Linked DNA regions of Homo sapiens: all the other regions are linked to region 3. The links are contacts of gene promoters, found by promoter capture Hi-C in blood cells and fetal thymus (Javierre and others, 2016). All regions are on one chromosome and are shown on one strand. The core of a region is centred on a gene start or on the middle of the fragment in contact, and the rest is flanking DNA. Distances in the headings are between cores, read along the strand shown.

The links. The method cuts DNA at HindIII sites, captures the fragments that hold promoters and counts their contacts. A CHiCAGO score of 5 or more calls a contact.
Region 1: a contact is called between a fragment that was not itself captured here and the fragment with the promoter of GLIPR1L1 in region 3, in 1 of 17 cell types (neutrophils). The highest score is 7.2, in neutrophils.
Region 2: a contact is called between a fragment that was not itself captured here and the fragment with the promoter of GLIPR1L1 in region 3, in 2 of 17 cell types (neutrophils and total CD4 T cells). The highest score is 8.9, in neutrophils.
Region 4: a fragment that was not itself captured here is called in contact with the fragment with the promoter of GLIPR1L1 in region 3 in 1 of 17 cell types (monocytes); the score reaches 5.7 in monocytes.

What each region holds. Positions count from the first base shown.
Region 1 is chr12:76,015,832-76,020,139 of GRCh38, forward strand. No RefSeq gene overlaps it. Among named protein-coding and RNA genes, the nearest start is that of PHLDA1-AS1, 13 kb to the right of the region's middle. The HindIII fragment of the contact is 6,475 bases long and covers 1-4,308 here.
Region 2 is chr12:76,057,215-76,061,466 of GRCh38, forward strand. NAP1L1 (nucleosome assembly protein 1 like 1) reads right to left here. Exons shown (of 15, transcript NM_004537.7): 5 at 2,924-3,065; 6 at 2,584-2,664. It also overlaps the pseudogene DENRP2. Among named protein-coding and RNA genes, the nearest start is that of NAP1L1, 25 kb to the right of the region's middle. The HindIII fragment of the contact is 7,125 bases long and covers 1-4,252 here.
Region 3 is chr12:75,332,794-75,336,839 of GRCh38, forward strand. GLIPR1L1 (GLIPR1 like 1) reads left to right here and starts at 1,877. Exons shown (of 6, transcript NM_001304964.2): 1 at 1,877-2,109. The coding sequence starts at 1,936. It also overlaps a transcript of CAPS2 not described here. RefSeq lists a silencer at 1,614-1,723. The HindIII fragment of the contact is 15,549 bases long and covers 1-4,046 here.
Region 4 is chr12:75,971,231-75,975,417 of GRCh38, forward strand. No RefSeq gene overlaps it. Among named protein-coding and RNA genes, the nearest start is that of PHLDA1-AS1, 57 kb to the right of the region's middle. The HindIII fragment of the contact is 4,874 bases long and covers 1-3,761 here.

The DNA.
Region 1 (4,308 bases), core at 448-2,947, 680 kb after region 3:
GTTCTCTCACATCTCATTATTTTAATCGTCACACTAGCTCCATGAGACAGGATTTATTATACCTATTTTACAGGTAAGAAAACTAAGATTCAAAAATGTTAGGTGACTTGTGCAAAGTTACACAGCTTAAGAGAGTCAGCACTGAGTCATATCCAGGTCCTTCAAATTCAAAGTTGTAGTCTTTCCAAAGAAAGGCAAATGAGTACAGAAATCACTACTTGTAAACTATTACAACTGAAACAGGGCAATTGAAGAATATCTTTACTCTAAAGACAAAGAAACTAAAGTCCAGAGACGCAAAATCATGTGCTCAGGGTCACACAACTTGTTAACGGCAAAGCCAAGTCTAGAATCTAGGATTCTTTCTACTACTCTTTGTTGACCCTTGAGGAATCTCCCGGGATAGTGTAAAAGCATGCTCCTCTTGTTGAGCATGAATGAAAAGCCTGAGATTCTTCTCCTGTTTTCTTGATTTGGATCTTTTGATAGACTCTGTGATTGGTGCTGGACATGACGTCTCTAAGGGAGCTAGCTTCTGCAAAACCAGCAAGCACCACTGATGGTGTCTCTGGCTTTATTGCTCCAGTTTCCGCTAAGAACCTTCGATCTTTCTTATATCTTTACCATGTCAATATGACTCTGACAGGAAGGCACTGAAAGCAACTACGTATTTCTGTTTTGAAATTTAGTTTTGTTCTATTTAAATTGTTCAGATGTAACGAAGGACCAATTGAAAATCATTACAACAGTACCATATGAGAAAGGAAAGTGTAAACCTTAGTAAGAATTATAAGAATACCTAAAATAGCCGGGCGCGGTGGCTCACGCCTGTAATCCCAGCACTTGGGGAGGCCGAGGCGGGCGGATCACGAAGTCAGGAGATCGAGACCATCCTGGTTAACATGGTGAAACCCCTTCTCTACTAAAAATACAAAAAAAATTAGCTGGGTGTGGTGGTGGGCGCCTGTAGTCCCAGCTACTCGGGAGGCTGAGGCAGGAGAATGGCGTGAACCCGGGAGGCAGAGCTTGCAGTGAGCCGAGATCACGCCACTGCACTCCAGCCTGGGTGAGAGTGCAAGACTCCGTCTCAAAAAAAAAAAAAAAAAAAAAAGAATACCTAAAATACTCTAAATTAATGTCTTTAAGAGCATTCCCATCTCTGAGAGAGGTCTGCATCGTATTTTAGTGCTAGCACACAGCCACAGTTTGCATAGCGTTTAAGCGCAAAGGCAGTGGAGTTAAATACCCAGATAACAATTCTCATCCTGCTGTTTATTTGGCAAGTTTCTTCAGTTCCCCAATCCTCAATTTCTTATCTATTAAGTAGAGGCTAATAAGACCTATAATAGAGGCTGCTAGTTTCCTTTCCAATAACCATTCTCCCCTCCTTCTTTGCTGACAGAACCCTAATTTTATTTGGGATGGCAATTTGGCCAGTACATTTCTAGCCCTCCTTTGCAACCCTGGATAGCAAATGTGGTGTTAAGTGGAAGTCACCATATTGGGATTCCAAAATTTTTCTAGGCTGGATATGGTAGCTCAAACTTGTAATCCCAGCACTATGGGAGGCCAAGTTGAGAGAATCACTTAAGTCCAGGAGTTCGAGACAAGTCTGGGCAACATAGGGAGACCCTGTCTCTACAAATAATTTAAAAATTAGTTGAGTGTGGTGGTGCGTGCCTGTGATCCCAGCTTCTCAGGAGGCTGAGGCAGGGGGATCACCTGAGCCCAGGAGGTTGAGGCTGCAGTGAGCTGCTGTTTCCCTAATTTTCTTTCTTCCTGTTCTAGAGCTCGAATATGGTAGCTGGAACTCCAGCAGCCATCTTGAATCATGAGGCTAGAAGTCCTGTACCAAGGGTGGTAGAAGAGAAAAGAAAGAAGGAACCCGGATCTGTGACAAACTAAAGTCACCTTACCCACCCTGGGCCACCCACATCTAGGTTACTTTTACATAAAAGAGAAGTAAATCTTTATCTTAATACACTTATTTTGATTTATCTGTAACAACAGGGTGTTTTTTTTTTGAGACGGAGTTTCACTCTTGTTGCCCAGGCTAGAGTGCAATGGCGTGATCTTGGCTCACCGCAATCTCCGCCTCCTGGGTTCAAGCAATTCTCCTGTCTCAGCCTCCCGAGTAGCTGGGATTACAGGCGCCTGCCACCAAGCCCAGCTAATTTTTTGTATTTTTAGTAGAGAAGGGGTTTCACCATGTTGGCCAGGCTGGTCTTGAACTCCTCACCTCAGGTGATCCGCCCACCTTGGCATCCCAAAGTGCTGGGATTACAGGCATGAGCCACCGCTCCTGGCCTGCCCTGTGGTCCTATTTTACACAGTCATTTGGTTCAACTGAATATCATTTTTTAAAGCCACATTGAAATCAAAGTGTTTTCCCAGGCTCTTAGAGTGCCCGGGTCAAGAATGCTGACAATCTGCTGTCAGAGAGAGAGGCTGTCCGCGTTACCCCCTATCAGCCCTCCCAGTCATCACTTGCATAAGAACCAGCAGGCAATCCACTGCCTTGTGACAAGCACTGTGACTCCAGGAGGGAGCCAAGTGCTATGAATGAAACCCCGTAAAAGGTCACTTTATGTAAGAGGAAATGTTGGCATCACCCAGAGCACATACACAATTTTGAATTAAAAGCCGGATTGCTGGATGCAGAAGTACATCTACTTATTAAAGATCCTGCTCCTTTTTTCTCCCTATCCTTTCATGAAAAGTTATTACAAACTCTAAAATCTTCTCCAAGTTAAATCCTTAAGTAAAAGAAGCACACAAGAAAACATTGTGTGGTTTGAAGTTCTTAATATCCTAGGTAGGTCAAAAACTGTTATTTATGGTTTAATTTGGAGCTATGTGAATTGCATTCACCTAGTTGCCCAGAAGGGCAGCAACAAATTTTTATCACTCCACGTATTAGGATCTCACCAGTGCCCATAGATCCACTACCCTCAACCAACCTTTTCAGAAAATATTTCTCCCAACACCTACACAGGCTACAAATCTAGGCAGCTACCTCCTCAAGTAACTGTATAAACATTCAAATCACTTCAACATTTTTCAACTCCACAGGTAATTTCAAGACCTGAGGGTGACTAGCAACAGGAAACATTCCACAAATATTTTAGGAGTCATAAGATAAAATCAATTTCAAATGGCTTTTTTAAAAGAATATATTCTAACAACCACATTTTAAAATAAGTCCATTTCAAAATATACTTCTGGAGGAGAAGGAGAGAGAAGAGGGAAAAAAAAGAAAAAAGAAAATGTGTGTGTGTGTATATATATATGCGTGTGTGTGTGTGTGTGTGTGTGTGTGTGTATTTCTGCAGTATTTCTGCAGGTAGGAGAGAGATTATTGCCTAACATTTTATAAAAAGCAATATATATATTTATACATATATATATATATATTTGTACACACACACACAGACACACACACACACTCTGGTTTCTTTTGTGAATTTGCCTGTTTCCTGAAGTTTTGTTAATCCATGTGGATTATATTTGAAAAGGGTAAAACATGATTAACTTTTTTTTTTTTTTTTTTTGAGACAAGGTCTCACTCTGTTTTCCAGGCTGGAGTGCAGTGGTGCAATTAGAGCTCACTGTGTCCTCGAACTCCTGGACTCAAGTGGTCTTCCTGCCTCAGAGTCCCAGGTAGCTGGGACCATAGGTGTGTGCCATCACATCAGGCTGTGTTTTTTATTTTTTGTAGAGGCGGGTTCTCACTTTGTTGCCCAGGCTGGTCTTGAACTCTGACCTCAAGTGATCCTCCTGCCTCTGTCTCCCAAAGGGCTGATATTACGGGCATGAGCCACTGAGCCTGGCCATGATTCCATTTTTAAAACTATGGAATTAAACAGTTTACTTTCCATCTCAGTTTATACTTTTTGGGGAAAAGATGTGATGAATCTTTTCATCTAAATGCTGAAAAGACTATAAATGATGTCTGAATGCTTCGAGTGATTATTTGCAAGAATAACAACACCTTGGATTTATGGAAATTGTCTTTCAGGCTTTACAAAGCAGTGGTGCAGTATTGAAAGAGCATTAATTAAGAATCATGGAAACTGGAATTTGGTTCTAATCATGTCTTTAACTTTAACTGCCGGTGTGACCTTGGGTGGCTAACTGACACCTCCTCACATCATTTTTTTTTTCACTGTAAAATGGGGAAGGATGGATGCTACATCATCTAAACTTCCAAAATGCCATGATCAACTCTGATTTCAAACTCAGTATTTCTGCAGGTAGGAGAGAGATTATTGCCTAACATTTGTTAGAAAGCAAACTCAAACCAGGGTC
Region 2 (4,252 bases), core at 55-2,554, 720 kb after region 3:
CCCAGGAATGAGCTGCAGTGAGCCAAGATCATGCCAGTGTACTCCAGCCTGGGCAACACAGCAAGTCCCTGTCTCTTAAACAAAAAAACTATAAAATGTAAGGAAATAATGACTTTTTGAGTACAGATGGTGGTGCCAGGTTGAATAACAGTTCATCTGCATTATCATTCTTACAAAAAGGAAAAATATTTCCTAGGTATAAAAATACAACTGATGCTCTAGGGAGGCCCTGGCCGGGGAAACGAGTTGCATTTGTCGGCTCAGCTGGCAACAGTGGCGGGAGCAGAGCTGGCGGGGCCTGTGCAACTGCCTGGGTTTGTGAAATGGCTGCTGACGTTTCCGATTCCAATAGGGCTGACTGCAAAGGAGACCCAAGGAACAGAGCCAAGTTAGATGCTGATTACCTACTTTGAGTCCTTTATTGTGGAGTCTGTTCATTACCAATAGAGTACTGTGAATATATGCCTGATGTTGCTAAATGTAGACAATGATTAGAGAAGAATTTTCCAAATGAATATGCAAAACTTACTGTGGAAAATTCACCCAAACAAGAAGCTGGAATCTGTCAAGGTCAAGGAACAGCAGGGGAAGAAGAGGAGAAGAAAAAACAGAAGAGAGGTGGAAGGGGTCAAATAAAACAAAAAAACAAAGACGGTACCACAAAAGGTTACTATAGCCAAAATTCCCAGAGCAAAGAAATATGTGACAAGGGTTGTGGCCTTGTAACTTTTGAAATTGATCTTAAATCACACAAAGATTTTTTGCTCAAAAATTCTCCTGTGGTGCCTCAGTAACAGAGGAGGATGAAATTATCATTCAAGGAGACTTTACAGATGACATAATTGAGGTCATTCAGGAAAAACAGACAGAAGTAGATGATGACAGCATCGAAGATCTTGGAGAAGAAGTGAATTTGAAAATTTGTCTGTAGTTAATGGCCTGAACTGACAGTAGATATGGCCAAAGGGAGAGAGGCCTACATATATATATATATATATATATATATATATGTATTCTACAGTAAAACTGTAGACTGCCTTCGTTCTTGGCATTTTCCCTGTTCTGTACAAGGCTGCTTATTTTTTTATTGCCAAAGTCAAATAAACAGGAGAGACTGTCATGCTCATACATGAACAGAATTTAGTCAAATAAAAAATTTTGGTTATTTGGTACTTTTTTTTTTTTTTTTTGAGACGGAGTCTCACACTGTCGCCTGGGCTGGAGCGCAGTGGTGCGATCTCGGCTCACTGCAACCTCGACTTCCCGAGTTCAAGTGATTCTCCTGCCTGAGCCTCCCGAGTAGGTGGGATTAGAGGCACCCGCCTCCACACCCAGCTAATATTTTGTATTTTTAGTAGAGATGGGATTTCACCATGTTGGCCAGGCTGGTCTCGAACTCCTGACCTAGTGATTGGCCCACCTAGGCCTCCCAAAGTGCTGGGATTACAGGCATGAGCCACTGCGCCTGGCCTTTCTCTTTCTCTCTTTTTATTTTTTGAAAAACCCGGTAGACTTTGCGGTGACCATTTTTGTTGATTATTTTACTGATCTAAAGCTGAGTGATTTTTTAAAAGAATTTGAATTTGGCTTCCTCACCAATAATATGTCTCCTTGCTTCTCTGATGTGATAGTTTTGAGATGGGTGAGAATCTAATATATCTGTGGTTGAATTTGCTTTGCTGTTATCAAGTCCACCCTATGGGCACAATAACATACTGTTGGTAGGAGTTGTTGGAGCTATTCTGGAGATTATTTGGTAAAGTATACTAAAAGCCTTAAAACCACGTATGTGCACTGTTTGAACCAGTAAGCCACTTCTTTGAAATTAGAAGACATTAGAAGAAACAATAAGCCTTGCAATAAAACTTATGGATGAAAGTATTCATCACAATATGATTTATAATAAAAAATTGCAAATGTTATAAGTGAACAATTGGAAAATGGTTAAGGAAGTGATGGTGCACTGTGTGGTATGTTTATGTTTAAAGATGTGGTATGCATATGTTTAAAGAATCATATTTTCTAAGATTATTTGGAAACATGTTTGGTAATGTCAAGTGGGGGCACCCCAGATACATTTTAGACATTTAATCATCATCGTTCTGAGAGGAAGGCCATTCAGAGATGCTAGAGGTTCTTATTCTGGATATAAATTACATGAGTAAAATTCTACTAACCAATTAAAAATAATGTACAACCATGTTCAATATACAGTCCTGGAAATAGCAATTATGTCTTTTCACAAGAGAAAATGACAGTTTTAATGCTCCATCAGATGAATTCGAACTTTAAGTCAGGTGCTGCAAATTGGAAATAAGACTTGTGGTGTTTTAAACTGCTGTGGACACTTAAGAAACTTAGAACCCATGAAACCGCTGCTTATTGCCATGCAAATTACAATCTTGAATGACTGTTTTTTAAAAATAAAGTAATAGAAAAACGTGTAATAAAGACGTAAAATTAAAAAATGAAAAAATACAACTGGTTATATAATATTGTACTCCATCATTAAATGCTAACATTTCTGACAAGTCCTAAGATTTTATCATCTTAAAAACATACCAAAATAAAGTTGGTACTAACCGAAATCTCATCTTCTTCATCTGGTTTCCATTCACATTCTTCTTCCGTAGGTTCATAAATTGCATTAATAATTTCAAATCGCTAAAATGATTTAAAAAAAAAAGGCTGTATAAAAACACTGGCATCCAAGCTAAAACCAGTGGTTTCTCACTAAGAAGTCTTACAAATTTAACAAATGCATACCACAACTTTAACTGCTATTATTGATAGTTCCTCCAAGTGCTGCCTCTAATAACAATTTCAATGAGAGTTCTAAAGATTAACCTCTTCCAAGTCTGCTTATGTTTCTAGAATTCGTCTTCTAGAATGTTAAATTAAACAAAGTAGGAGAAAGCATTACCTTATCAAATAGAGGCTGATAGAGAACAGCATACTTCCTTTCAAGATCGTGAACTTCCTCATAGAATTTGGCTTCTATCTGTGCACATTTAACTTGCAGGTTTTTGAGAGCATTCACTCGTCTTTTAACTACCCTAGGCAGGCTGAAAGGTTAGAAATCAGTTATATAGCATCAGAGTAAAATGGAAGTCACACTTCTTTTGTCATACTGAAACTGAAGCATTGGAGTTAGTGAATGACAGGTTTTTTATCTGAAGCAAAAGGTAGATTCAAAGTAAATAAAAATCAAATAGATATAAATACATTGATCCACTGGCTATATTTCAAAAGTAGAAATGTAACTGGGTAAATTGATAAACAAAATGTAAATCATATTGTCAACCCTAAATCTTTACCCAAGTTAAGTGTTGGACTTGTCATTGCTGAAGTCATGGACAGACCATCTTAATTCTGAGAACAATGATTACTTGGATTTTTCTTTTACATATATCTCACCCATACAAGTTATTAGGAAAAAGGAGGGGAGCATAGACATATCAGGAAAAAGGACAAGATTCCACACACCATTATTTTTTTAGTCTCCATATTTAATTAGGAATTAGTAATTACATTATTAAATACAAGTGTAACATACTATAAAGAGGAGACATGTATTTTTAAAATAACAGCTTTAGGGCCAGGTGCTATGGCTCACAACTGTAGTCCCAGCACCTTGGGAAGCCGAGGCAGGTGGATTCCTTTAGCCCAAAAACTCAAGACCAGCCTGGGCAACATGACAAAACCCTGTCCTTACAAAAAATACAAAAATTAGCTGGGTGTGGTGGTGCATGCCTGTGGTCCCAGCCACTTGGAAGGCTAAGATGAGAGCATCACCTGAGCCTGGGATGTCGAGGCTGAATTGAGCAAGATTGCACCACCACTGCACTCCAGCCTGGCTGACAGAATGAGACCCTGTCTCAAAAATAAATAACAGCTTTGATGAGATAAAGTTCATACACCATACAATGAACTGTGAAGCACTATTTTGTTAAAATTTTATTTTAGGTTTAGGGGTGTATGTGAAGGTTTGCTATACAGATTATTTTATCACCCAAGTATTAAGCCCAGTACCCAATACTTAATTTTCTGCTCCTCTCCCTCCTCCCACACTCCACCCTCAAGTAACCCCAGTGTCTGTTGTTTCCTTCTTTGTGTTCATGAGTTCTCATCATTTAGCTCCTACTGGTAAGTAAGAATGTACGATATTTGGTTCTCTGTTCATGTGTTAGTTTGTTAAGGATAATAGCCTCTAGCTCCGTCCACGTTCCCACAAAAGACATGATCTCGTTCT
Region 3 (4,046 bases), core at 627-3,126:
AGAAGGCAGATGTTAAAAAAATAAATAACATAAATTCAGGAGGTAATTAATGCAATGAAGAAAAATAAAACAGGTTAAATGGATAGGCACTGACAGACAGGGGATATAGAATGATCAGGGAAGACTTCACTGAAGGGAACTCTATAAAGAGCACTGCAGGCAAAAGTAACAGCAAGTGCAAAGATGCTGAGGAGAGAGCATCCTTATCAAGCTGATGGATGTGGCTGATGCAGAATAAGCCAGGAGAGAATGCCAGAGAACTAGCCATGGTCAGATTATGTAGTGTCTTTTGGGCCATACCTAGGACTTCAGATTTTTTATTGTAGCCCCCCACTGTAATGTGAGCCAATTCCTTAAAAGTTCTCTTTCTCTTTGTATACAAACATATGTATATGTATATATGCCTATAGACATCTGTATCTCTCTCTGTGTAGATGTATATATGTCTATAGGCAGACACACACACATATATGTGTATACAAACAGATTTATACATAGAGAGAACTTTACATATATAAATGTATGTGTGTATATGTATGTGTGTATATGCCTATAGATATCTTTATATCCAGGAAGAGACATATATATATAGACACATGTAGATGTATATAACTGTATTGATTTATCTATCTGTATACCTACACACACACATATACACACACACACACACGTATATATGTTCATGTCTTTGGGTGTGGGATATCAGAAGCTCAGTTTGGACTATGTATGTGATATGAAAGTAGTATATACAGCAATTCTCCATTAGCTGGTAGTAGACTAGAAATATATTATCTATTGCCCAGTAGAATTTCCATTAGGATCCTTGCATTTTTCGTTTTCTTATAATCTAATTTTCTGCTTTTTATTTTTAAAAAGATAGTAGCTGCATCAAAGTAGTTTGTTTTGGTTTTTGTTTTTTGTGTCAAGGTTGACTATGGCGGATCATTCAGCAGATGTAAGTACGTGTTCACTTGAATTAAACAGCATTGTAAACAACTTCAAATTACTAAGTAAAGGTATTTATTTGAAACATAGAAATACTAAAAAAAATTAATGTCATGGGGAAAAATGCTGGTTTATTACAGAATATCAATATAACTGATGTAATGAATTTAAAACATTAAGCCAAATGACGTTGATTTATATTGCATTGCAGGTAAAATAGACAATCAAATGTACTCTGTCCATCCCAGTCTCAGTGTATCAATTAAAGCAACTCTTGGAGTCTACCAGTCACCATACAGTGGCTCTGTTCCAAACTATCAAAAAGGGAAGATTTTGTCAAGAGGAACTACTTGGCTACATTTTCCAAGCATCTATTGTTATCTATCTAAGCATTCGGTCTCTTCAGACGAAAAAACAGAAGGAAATTATTAAATGTTTGACAAGTTGATAATTTAGGATCACTGTATGTCACTGTATAAGAATTGCCTATTCTTACTCTATTCCCAATCTCTGAGGGAAGTGGCAATATGATTCTAGATTATTTAGAACAATAAAAATCTATACACGGAAGCTGCGTCTAAGAAACGAATATATAGTGCTTTGCACTCGACTGGCCCATTGTCAGCATCCCGCACTTGTTCTTTACCTAACTTGTGTGGCTTGCATATTGCAATCTGTATTACAATCCAGACGCGCTCTGCAGATTACAGATTGGATCCACAGAAAGCAGTTTGGATGGTTGAAATTCCCTCCACCAGAGGGCGACTCAGAGCTTTCCCCTGTAGCTCAGAGCTTTGTGGAAGGGGAACCCTGCTGCCTGTTCTTCCCCACAGCGACACTGACAAGTTGATCCAGCCGCGCTGGGCTCGAGCCTGTGCGGCAGGATGGAGCCAAGGGAGAGCGTGGTGCGGGGGCGTGGGGAAATCGGGTTGCCCCAGCCGTTACTGGTCCGCGCAGTCAGGGCATCCTCCGCATCCTCCACATCCTTCCATGGCTCTGAAGAATAAATTCAGTTGTTTATGGATCTTGGGTCTGTGTTTGGTAGCCACTACATCTTCCAAAATCCCATCCATCACTGACCCACACTTTATAGACAACTGCATAGAAGCCCACAACGAATGGCGTGGCAAAGTCAACCCTCCCGCGGCCGACATGAAATACATGGTGAGAAAGAACCAGGGCTGGGCTCTTAAATCCCTGACTCATCCTGAGGTATCTGGGTGATAAATTTCACGGACTTAACTTGTACTAATTCAATCCGGACTTTACATATATGCAGTTAAAAAGAAAAAAATTCACACCTTGGTTGGGCTGTCTCCTCCAGAGTCATAGGAGTGAACAAGAAAGGAAGACTTGAAGCTGTTCCTTGCCTCTTGCGGGGAAGGTGGGGATGCTGGAGCAGTGTTTGGAAGTTGCTTTGTTGCACCACTAAAGTTATAAGTACTGAACACAGGATTATTTTGTTTTCTTTCTTCCATTTTTTAGCTAGCAATTTCCACCCCCCACAACCAAGATACAAGATACCAAAGAAATAGCCCAGGAATGGAGATTCTCTTGTTCTCTTACTTATTTTTATATCATATGAATCCAAGATCAAAACAACACTTCATGTGTAGTATTATTTGAAAAAAATACAGTACTCTATTGAAGAATAAGCATAAAAAGCATTGGATTATTAAATAATCCATAGAATTTACAAAATTTTAAATACTTGACTATGAATTGTATGATTGGAAATTTCCCTTGCATTGTAACTTTTTCTTGTTTATAAATGCATCACTATGAGCATAAACGTTGATAGTATTAGTCTATTTTATGTGCTATGCAGATGTAGATACAGTATAACTCATATCTATTCCAGCTTTCTTCTTTTCTATCCAGTGGAAAACAAAAGTAATTATAAAATCACAACTCAGGCATTAAAATAAGTTCAAAACTGTACTAGTCTACTGTATAAGAAAATTATATTTTGATGGAGAAAGATTCAAATATGTATCAGAAATGAAACAAGAATAAACTAATCTCTTTAATGCAGAATTGTTAAGATATTTTAATATATAATGTTTACCAGCTTGGGGTTGTCCAAGGCATAAATTAACTAGAAATAAATCTTCAACGGAATTCAGAAATACTAATATTAGTATTAATATGGTTGATGCCTTTAGAGTTTTATTGTAAATGTATGATAAAAAAGAGTAAATGTGGGGTTAAATATAATAAATGTTCTTTATATTTCTTTTGTACTCATTGACTATTTAAAGCAAAATATGATAACAATGAATTGTGGAGTTTATAATAATGTAGAAACTAAACACATTATAACCAATGCATAAAAAATGAAGTGAAGTGTCAATAGAATTATTCTGCTGAAAGTTCCTTATATTGTTAAGAATCACAATAATATTTCTGGATGGACCGTGAGAAGTTAAGAATGCATATTTTAATATCTAGGATAACCATTAAAAATATACAAAGAAGTAGAGCTAAAAATCCAGTAAGTAGAATACTAAAGTCCTTGATTAATTTTTGGAAAACAGGAACAAGGAACAAAAGAACAAAGAGGGAATCATTTAAAAATAGCAAATGGTAGACTAAAACTTAACCATGTTAAAATTACATTAAATGCAAATGACTACTACATACTTTAATTAAAAATAAAGATTATCAGATTGGATTAATGCTTTTGTAACAGAAACATATCACAAATAGATTAAAGTAAAAAGATGGAAAAAATACATTATGCAAACTCTAAAATTAAGATAGAATAGCTATATTTATGGCTACTGAAGTAGATTTTAAGACAAGGAGAACTACCAGAAATAAAAGGGGACATTTAGGAAAATAAAAGGGCTAATTCAACAAAAGACACAGCAATCTTCAATACAAATAAATGTAATAATATATTTTAATACACAAAAATTGGCAAAAGTAAAGGGAGAAAGAGACAAAACAGTCATAGAGATTTTAATCTTAGTGAGTAAGAGAACAAGTAGGTAAAAATCAGTAAAAATAAAAAAGATTTGAACATCAAACAATTTTACCTAATTGACATTAAACAATTTATACCACACTGCAAAATACAAATTTTTATCAAGTATTCA
Region 4 (4,187 bases), core at 75-2,574, 640 kb after region 3:
GGGACCTGGTTCAATTTTGAAATACGTTTACACTTAAAGAAAAGTTGCACATGACAAGACCCCATCTGATATCATTTGGTTGGGTCCCCACCCAAATCTCATCTTGAATCATAGTTACCATAATCCCCATGCGTCATGGAAGGGACCAGGAGGAGATAATTGTATCATGGGGGGTGGGGGTTACCACATGATTCTTATGATAATGAGTTAGCTCTCATGATAGCTGATGGTTTTATAAGGGGTTTCCCCCTTTGCTGAGCACTCATTCTCTCTCCTGCCACCCTGTGAAGAGGTACCTTCTGCCATGATTGTAAATTTCCTGAGGCCTCCCCGACCATGTGGAATTGTGAGTCAATTAAACTTCTTTCCTTTATAAGTTACCCAGTCTCAGGTATGTCTTTATTAGCAGCATGAGAATCGACTAATACACCATCCCTACAAAAATTTTTAAAATTAGCTGAGCCTGGTGCTATGCACCTGTTCCAGCTACCCAGCTACCCAGGAGGCTGAAACAGAAGGATCACTTGAGCCCAGGAGTTTAAGGCTACAGTGAGTTATGTCACTTTACTCCAGCCTGGGTGACAGAGCAAGACCTTGTCTCAAAAACAAAACAAAACAAAAAAAAAAAGGAGGAAAGAAAGAAAAGAAAAATTTGTTGCAAAAACAGTACAGACAGTTTCCATATGTCCTTTACCTAGCTTCTTTTAATGTTAGCAACTTGCATAGCCATAACACAATTATCAAAGATAAGAAATTAACATTGACACAATGCTATACCTACATGGAGTGATACTTATTCAATTTTCACCAGTTTTTCCACCAAAATCTTTTTCTCTTACAGGATTCCACATTACATTTTGTCGTCATGTCCCCTTAGTCTCCGCCACACTATGACAGTTCCTTAGTCTTTCCTTGACTTTCATGACCTAGACACTTTTGAAGATGAGTGGTAAATATTTTATAGAATGTTGCTCAATTTGTGTTTGTCTGATGTTTTCTCAAGATGAGATTGATGTTTTACATTTTTAGCAAGAATGCCACCAAAGTGAAGTGCCCTTCTCAGTGTATCGTTTTGGGTTAGGAGATATCATTATATCTCACTACTGGTGAGGTTAACCTGGATCACTCAATTAAGGTGGTGTCTGCTGGAGTTTTCTGCTGTCAAGTTAGTATGTCTCCATTTGTGATTAATAATCTTGAGGGAGATACTCTGAGAGAGTAAATATTGTGTTTCTCCTCAAACTTCCACACACTGATGTCTGCAACAATTATTAATGGGGTATTCTAATGGTGAGTTTCTATTTCCTTCCTTCTACCTTTATTAGTTAGAATTTTCCAGGAAGAGTTCTGTAAGGAAAAGTTGTGCCTTCTCTTCATTTTTTCAATTACTTATCAATATCAGTATGGACTCGTGGATATTTATTTTATTCTGAGTTTTAATTCAATGCTATCATTATTTTGTTCTTCAAGATAATCTAATTTTTTAAGAGACAAGGTCTTGTTCTACCACCCAGGCTGGAGTACAGTGGCACCATTGTGACTCACTGCAGGCTTGAACTCCTGAACTCAAATGATCCTCCCGTCTCAGCCTCCTGAGTAGCTGGGACCACAGATGTGCACCCCTATGCTTGGCTAATATGGTTTTTTTTGGTAGAAATGGGTCTCACTTTGTTGTCTGGGCTGGTCTTGAACTCCTGGTTTCAAGTGATCCTCCCACCTTGGCCTCCCAGTGTTTGGATTACAGGCATGAGCCACTGCACCTGGCCTTGAATAATCTGACTTTTTAAAGCTAGTTAAGGAATCGTTGACTTAGTCTCTCTGTTTTCTCATCTGTAAAATGAAAACAATAACAACATTCCTCTTAAAGTGTTAGGGTGAAGATTAATAACATCATGTGTGTAAAGCCCTCAGCTCATCGCTTACTTACAGTAGACTTTCAATATATATTACTATATTGTCAAGAGAGGCATTATGTAAATATCTGTGTTAGATACAGACAGGAGCTGGCAGCATAGTGTAGTCTGGTCAATCATGGAATAGATCTTAGGAAAACAAATAACTCAGGAATTCCATTTTGGAGGAAGAAGAGCAGAACTAGCTCTGCTACTAACTAGCCACTAATGTTAGACAAATCACCTCTCCATCTGAAACTCAATTTCCTCATAGATAAACATTGGAGGGCCTTTCCAATTCTAACACTGTGTGATACTAACTATTTGAGATATATGGAAAAATTTGGTAACTTACGCAAAGTGAAAAAACAGATCAATGATGCTTCTACAATGACTTGGAGAAGAGACTAATATCCATGAAAACATAACCCAAGTTTTTGCTGCCATTGTAGAAACAGCAATGACAAGAGCAGGGAAAATGACACATGTGGTTTTATTCTTGTCAGGTTCCTGCTCCATCTCCTAGTAAAATCCACATTATTTCCCTACCATTGAGTCTTACATATGACTTTTTTTTTTTTAATTATTCCTATCAATGACAAACAAGCAACTTCTTTTTGTAGTACTTGCAATTACATAATTGTGTTTTTAAAATTCATGCAAAAAAATGAAAATTGTTTAAAATAAAACAAACTATGATGTTCGTCTGTATCGTTATGTATCACCAGGGTCTAAGACACTGCCTAGCATTTACTATGAGATCAAATTTTTTTTTTTTTTTTTTTTTTTTGAGACGGAGTCTCGCTCTGTCGCCCAGGCTGGAGTGCAGTGGTGCGATCTCTGCTCACTGCAATCTCTGCCTCCCGGGTTCACGCCATTCTCCTGCCTCAGCCTCCCAAGTAGCTGGCACTACAGGCACCCACCACCACGCCTGGCTAATTTTTTGTATTTTTAGTAGAGACAGGGTTTCACCGTGTTAGCCAGGATGGTCTCGATCTCCTGACCTCGTGATCCACCCGCCTCGGCCTCCCAAAGTACTGGGATTACAGGCATGAGCCACCGCACCCGGCCCAAAAAATATTTTTTGATTAAACAAATGAATCAAGAATGAACAAATGAATGGCCATAGATATTACAAAAGAGAGAAGTATATCATAAGAGGATAACAATAATATGATCACTGCAATGGAGTTGTGGAGTAGTGCCTGTGTTGGGGAGAAGATGAAAAATCGTTCCTCATGTCTCACAGATTAAAAGGGCAGAATCCTGGAGATGGTTGAAGTAGGAGCTGCTACCCACTACTCCCTCTCCAACTTCCCCCTCTGAAAAAATGCCCTTTAACACTGACACTCAACCTCACATGGTGAGCAAAAACTGCTGGCCCAAGGTCCTGGCCTCTGCCACAGGCTATGAGCCTCATTCAGGTTCCACATTTAGTGTGACACAGATGTTACTTCCTCCTAAAGTTAAGGACATGGACTTAAACAATTCATAAGCACCTCCAAAAATAACTTCCATGTGCTCTGTAAATACCACCTCCAGACATACTCCAAAATTAAATTCCTGCCTCATTTGTTTTCCCGACACCTGCTCCTCAACTGACCAAACTGTTTCCCGTAAGCATTTAACATGCTCTCTTCTGGGGAAACACTGGCTACAGGAACCACACTGGAGAGCTGCCTTACACAAAAGACCAACACAAAACAAAGTACTTGTGCTGCTTTAGTAACATTCCCTGGATAAGGTGCAAGAGGGGTGGGCATTTCACCAAATTGTACTCCACAGTGAATAGCATTATAGCACAAGGAATGTTTCCAGGGTAATCCCCTCCATGCTGTCTTTGTTTTCTAATTAGGCTTTCTTACAGTAAGCTTATAATGTCTCCTACAGACTATGGGCACCAGATCACAGAGGCAGCCAGACCTGTGATGTAAGGAAACACAGAAAGTGGCCTTGGATCAAACATGAGCTTCAAAGATTGACGGTCCTCCTCCATCCCTTATGAAACTACCATAACCTGAAGCCTTTCATCCTGGTGGCTCCGAAGCCTAAGCCAGTGCTTTTTTTTCCCCCTGTTGCCCAAGCTGAAGTGCAGTGGCATGATCTTGGCTCACTGCAACCTCCACCTTCCAGGTTCAAGTGATTCTACTGTCTCAACCACCCGAGTAGCTGGGATTACAGGTGTGCAACACCAGGCCCAGCTGATTTTTGTATTTTTAGTAGAGACAGGGTTTCACCATGTTGGCCAGGCTGGACTTGAACTCCTGACCTCAAATGATCCACCTGCCTCGGCCT